2 separate regions of the Homo sapiens genome follow, and region 2 is linked to region 1. Evidence: promoter capture Hi-C in human tissues and cell types (Jung and others, 2019). All regions are on one chromosome and are shown on one strand. The core of a region is centred on a gene start or on the middle of the fragment in contact, and the rest is flanking DNA. Distances in the headings are between cores, read along the strand shown. Region 1 holds the start of SCO2 (synthesis of cytochrome C oxidase 2). Region 2 overlaps PPP6R2 (protein phosphatase 6 regulatory subunit 2).

Region 1 (2,724 bases), core at 225-2,724:
AGTCCTGCCTAACCCCAGTCCCACCCTCTTCTGCCCGAAGTCCCTCCCTCCTTCACGGCTTCCTAACCTGCTGTGACTTTAGAGGTCAAGGCTGGCCCGGCCTGGACCTGGGGAAGCCCTCTGTGGCGTTCCTGCCCCAGACCAAGTACAAGTTCCTCCTGGCCCCATGGCGAGGTGTCGCACTTCACTCGTGTCTCTTCCCCACCCCAATCCTTCCCTGACTTCATGCTGGGGGGCTGGCAACCCAGGGTGCAGCAGGGGCTGGAGTTCGACCAAGAACCGGCTGCAGAAGGCCCCGCCATGGGGGGTCCACGCTGAGCCTCCTCTCCGCAGGTTGGCGTGGGAGCCAGCCTAGGGCTTCGGGTCGCGGCAGCGCTGACCGCCATGGACAAGCCCCTGGGTCGCTGCGTGGGCCACGCCCTGGAGGTGGAGGAGGCGCTGCTCTGCATGGACGGCGCAGGCCCGCCAGACTTAAGGGACCTGGTCACCACGCTCGGTGAGGGGGACGGGGTGTAGGGGAGCGGAGGCGGCGGGGGGTGCTTCCCGCTGGGGCCGCCCCGACCCGGCCGCGCCTAAGACCCGTCCCCGCCCGCAGGGGGCGCCCTGCTCTGGCTCAGCGGACACGCGGGGACTCAGGCCCAGGGCGCTGCCCGGGTGGCCGCGGCGCTGGACGACGGCTCGGCCCTTGGCCGCTTCGAGCGGATGCTGGCGGCGCAGGGCGTGGATCCCGGTCTGGCCCGAGCCCTGTGCTCGGGAAGTCCCGCAGAACGCCGGCAGCTGCTGCCTCGCGCCCGGGAGCAGGAGGAGCTGCTGGCGCCCGCAGATGGTGAGCGTCGGGGGAGTCCCCGTCCTTCCGCCTCCGCCATCCCCTTCCCTTCCCGAGGCCCCGCCCCTTCCCGAGCCCGCGCCTCTCAGCCCCTCTCCCCGCAGGCACCGTGGAGCTGGTCCGGGCGCTGCCGCTGGCGCTGGTGCTGCACGAGCTCGGGGCCGGGCGCAGCCGCGCTGGGGAGCCGCTCCGCCTGGGGGTGGGCGCAGAGCTGCTGGTCGACGTGGGTCAGAGGCTGCGCCGTGGTGAGCGCCGCCCCCGCCCTGCTGGCCCCGCACCCCCGCCCAGCTCCGGCCGCGCGGCCTCTAACAGCCCCTCGCTCTGCAGGGACCCCCTGGCTCCGCGTGCACCGGGACGGCCCCGCGCTCAGCGGCCCGCAGAGCCGCGCCCTGCAGGAGGCGCTCGTACTCTCCGACCGCGCGCCATTCGCCGCCCCCTCGCCCTTCGCAGAGCTCGTTCTGCCGCCGCAGCAATAAAGCTCCTTTGCCGCGAAACCTTGTCAGTGCTTGGGCGGGAGCGGAAGGATCCAGGGCTGCGGAGGCGGGGGCCGTCTCGATGAACACGTGACCCCCGGCGGGCTCCGCCTTCCGCGCACGCGCTGAGAGCCTGTCAGCGGCTGCGCCCGTGTGCGCATGCGCAGCTCCGGGGACGCCTGCGCCCTGCCTGTGAGCGTGTGGCGCCCGCTTTCCCTGAGCCGGCGGGGCAGAGCGCAGGGAGCTGGAGGTCGGCGCTTCCTCTCGTGCTTGGTCCACTGACGCGCGGCCCCGCCGCGAGGTGCGGACGCCGGGGCTGGGAGGGGAGGAGGTAGCCCTGAGGACTCGCTGGACTCCGGGGTAGTTTCCCAGCTCCGGCTACTGCGCGGGGCTGGCGGGGCACACCCCAGGGCGCGCTGGAGGCCGGAGCGAGGCTGGGGCGCCCGTGGGAGGCTCCCAGCAGGCACCGGTGTTCTCGCGGCCAAGCACAGTTATAACGCGCTCGCGCGGCGCTTCGAGTGGTCCTGGAACCTTTCTGGCCACGAGGGCGCTGGCCTTGCTGGGGAGGGCACAAACCCAGAACCGCCCGGGCGGGGGTGCAGTGAGTCCTCGGGAGGGTGCCCTCAGCAGGAGGGGGCAGTGACCGGGAGTCCTGAGACCTCCACCTAGCAAACCTTCTGCGGGGGCCCGTGGGAAAGGCTCAAAGGTCACCAACGCAAAGGCAGGGCGTCGGCTGTGAGCCCGGAGGAGCTGCTGGGAAGCCTGGATGTGAGGAGGGTGGGGTTTTGTGGCGGGTGGAAGTGTCGTGCGTCTCTGCCAGGAGAGGTTAAACACAGCCGGCGGGCAGAGTCTGAGCTCCGGGGGTAGGTCGTGCAGGTTTTCTGCTGGGAGTGTGGAGGAAGGCCGCGGTTGGTTGAAGTGGCTGGAGGTAACAGGAAAGTGTTGGAGGAATCGGTTGCTCTCGGGGATTGCAAGCCAGAGAGTTACCCACCTCCTTTTAAGAAATGGGTTTATTGCAAATAGATAACGTGGTTAGTTCAGGCAAGGCATGCACTTGGAATGCTTTCCGTCAGCAAGAGGTTCACCTTGCTGAGGTGCAGGTGCAGGGCAGGGTGCGGTGACAGGCTGGTGATCCCAGGTAGAGGACAGGAGTGACAGGTGTGGTTGCCCAGGTGTGGATGTTTGGTGGAGGTGGAGTTCTGAGCTCAGGTGAGCAGCTGCAAATGCCTGTTAAGCCTGAACGTGGGCTGGGTCCTTCAGATGGGTGGCTGGTCTCAAGTCGCAGGGGCAGCCCAGGCACTGTCCTGGGCCTTCCCTTCTGGCTCCTGACGCCTGTGCTTGTTTCCAGGAGCATCAGATCCATGCTGCTGCTGACTCGGAGCCCCACAGCTTGGCACAGGCTCTCTCAGCTCAAGCCTCGGGTCC
Region 2 (2,724 bases), core at 116-2,615, 170 kb after region 1:
CGGGCGCCTGTGGTCCCAGCTACTCTGGAGGCTGAGGCAGGAGAATGGCATGAACCTGGGAGGCGGAGCTTGCAGTGAGCCGAGATCGCGCCACTGCACTCCAGCCTGAGTGACAGAGCGAGACTCCGTCTCAAAAAAAAAAAAAGAGGGAAATACACTATAGGTATTAAAACATCACTATGTACCCCATAAATATATACAATTATGTGTTATGTGTACACTTTTTAAAAGAGAAAAATTTTTAAAAGCTTTTTTTTTGGTTTTTTTTTTTCCATTTTAAAGAATAAGGCTGTGCCAGGCGCAGTGGCTCACCCCTGTAATCCCAGCAATTTGGGAGGCCGAGGCGGGCGGATCATGAGGTAAGGAGATCGAGACCATCCTGGCTAACACAGTGAAACCCCGTCTCTACTAAAAATAGAAAAAAATTAGCTGGGTGTGGTGGCGGGCACCTGTAGTCCCAGGTACTCAGGAGGCTGAGGCAGGAGAATGGCGTGAATCCAGGAGGCGGAGCTTGCAGTGAGCCAAGATCGCACCACTGCACTCCAGCCTGGGCGACAGAGCGAGACTCTATCTCAAAAAAAAAAGGCCGGGCGCAGTGGCTCACGCTTGTAATCCCAGCACTTTGGAAGGCCAAGGCGGGCGGCCGATCACGAGGTTAGGAGATCGAGACCACAGTGAAACCCCTTCTCTACTAAAAATACAAAAAATTAGCCGGGCGTGGTGGCAGGTACCTGCAGTCCCAGCTACTCGGAGAGGCTGAGGCAGGAGAATGGCATGAACCTGGGAGGCGGAGCTTGCAGTGAGCCGAGATCACGCCGCTGCACTCCAGCCTAGGCTACAGAGCGAGACTCTGTCTCAAAAAAGAAAAAAAAAAAAAAAAAAAGAAGGCTGCTTGCTGTATGTGGATATAACAGGATTTCCAATATAGGAGGAGTATCCCTAAACCAAAAATCGTGAAATTGAAATCCTGGGCCAGGCAAAGTGGCTCACGCCTGTAGTCCCAGTACTTTGGGAGGCTGAGGTGGGAGGATCGCTTAAGTCCAGGAGTTCAGGATCAGCCTGGGCAATAGAGCAAGGCCCTGTCTCCACAAAAAATAAAAAATTAGCCAGGCATGGTGGCAGGCACCTGTAGTCTCAGCTACTCAGGAGCCTGGCAGGTCAAGGCTGTGGTGAGCTGTGACTGTGCCACTGCACTCAACCTAGGTGACACAGAATGAGACTGTCTCAAAAAAAAAAAAAAAAAAGGCTGATCCAGGTGCAGCAGCTTTTACAACTAATTGATCACAACCAGTTACAGATTTGTATGTACGTGTACGAGAGAGAGTCTCACTGTCATCCAGGCTGGAGTGCAGTAGCATGATCTCGGTTCACTGCAACCCCTGCCTCAGCCTCCTGAGTAGCTGCGATTACAGGCGCTTGCCACCATGCCCGGCTAATTTTTGTATTTTTAGTACAGACAGGGTTTAACCATGTTGGCCAGCCTGGTCTCAAACTCCGGACCTCAGGTGATCCACCCACCTCAGCCTCCCAAAGTGCTGGGATTACAGGTGTGAGGCGCCGTGCCCACCTACAAATGTTTGTGTTCCTTTTCCACTCCCAGTGCTTCACTTGACTAGCCAAAAAATAAAAATAAAAAAAGCACTCCAATCCAAAACTTGTTGAGCATCTACATGATGCTCAAAGGACATGCTCACTGGAGCATTTCAGATTCCTTATTGGGGAAGCTCAACTGGTAACTCTGAGAAAATTTGAAATCCAAAACATCTCTAGTCCCAGGCATTTTATTTTATTTATTATTTATTTATTTTGAGACAAAGTCTCGCTCCGTCGCCCAGGCTGGAGTGCAGTGGCATGATCTTGGCTCACTACAATCTCCACCTTCTGGGTTCAAGTGATTCTCCTGCCTCAGCCTCCTGAGTAGCTGGAATTACAGCCACGTGCCACCATGCCCGGCTAATTTTTGTATTTTTAGTAGAGACAGGGTTTCACCATGTTGGCCACGGTGGTCTCAAACTCCGGACCCCAGGTGATCCGCCCACCTCGGCCTCCAAAAGTGCTGAGATTACAGGCATGAGCCACCGCGCCCGGCCTCCCAGTCAGCTTTTCTAAATAAAATTGTATTGGAACATAAACAAGAACACACAAATGCCTGATACATAATCAGTTATCGTTACAATTCCAAAATGTATTCTTTTAATTTTCTTTGTTCTTCCTCTATTCTTCTAGGGAATCTATTAAAATTTTTTAAAAATATTTTTAAAAGTTAGCCTTTCCCTTAACAAAAAAAAAAAAAAAGGGAGAGGCTTTTGAGTCACACTACCTGGGGTACAAATCTTGCCTCTATCATCTACTTGCTGTTTATTTCCATTTCCTCATCTGTGAAATGGAAAACAACACAGGCGTACTTTGTCTAACGTGCTTCCCTTCATTGTGCTTCGCAGGTAATGTGCTTTCTACAAATTAAAGGCTGGTAGCAACCTTGCGTCAAGCACGTCGAGGGGTGCCATTTTTCCAACAGCATGTGCTTACTTCGTGTCTCTGTGTTGCATTCTGGTAATTCTCACAATATTTCAAACTCTTTCATTATTATTTTATCTGTTATGGTGACCTGTTATCGGTGATGTTTGATGTTACTATTTTAATTGTTTTGGGAAACTACAAACCGTGCCCATATAGGATAGCAAACTTAATAAACGCTGCGTAAGTTCTGACCGGCCATTTCCC

What was found. Contacts are between HindIII fragments. The study calls those that stand out against the background at their distance.
Region 2: a fragment that was not itself captured here is called in contact with the fragment with the promoter of SCO2 in region 1 in 1 of the 25 tissues and cell types used here (hippocampus).

What each region holds. Positions count from the first base shown.
Region 1 is chr22:50,524,348-50,527,071 of GRCh38, reverse strand. It overlaps SCO2 (synthesis of cytochrome C oxidase 2), which reads left to right and starts at 1,474. Exons shown (of 2, transcript NM_005138.3): 1 at 1,474-1,600; 2 at 2,648-2,724. The coding sequence starts at 2,661. NCAPH2 (non-SMC condensin II complex subunit H2) reads right to left here. Exons shown (of 20, transcript NM_152299.4): 20 at 2,292-2,724. It overlaps TYMP (thymidine phosphorylase), which reads left to right. Exons shown (of 10, transcript NM_001953.5): 7 at 334-496; 8 at 596-826; 9 at 931-1,071; 10 at 1,154-1,320. The coding sequence ends at 1,302. RefSeq lists enhancers at 1-264, 73-372 and silencers at 463-1,292, 1,503-1,802. The HindIII fragment of the contact is 20,776 bases long and covers 1-2,322 here.
Region 2 is chr22:50,353,389-50,356,112 of GRCh38, reverse strand. All of the region lies in intron 1 of PPP6R2 (protein phosphatase 6 regulatory subunit 2), which reads right to left. Among named protein-coding and RNA genes, the nearest start is that of PPP6R2, 11 kb to the right of the region's middle. The HindIII fragment of the contact is 4,805 bases long and covers 1-2,724 here.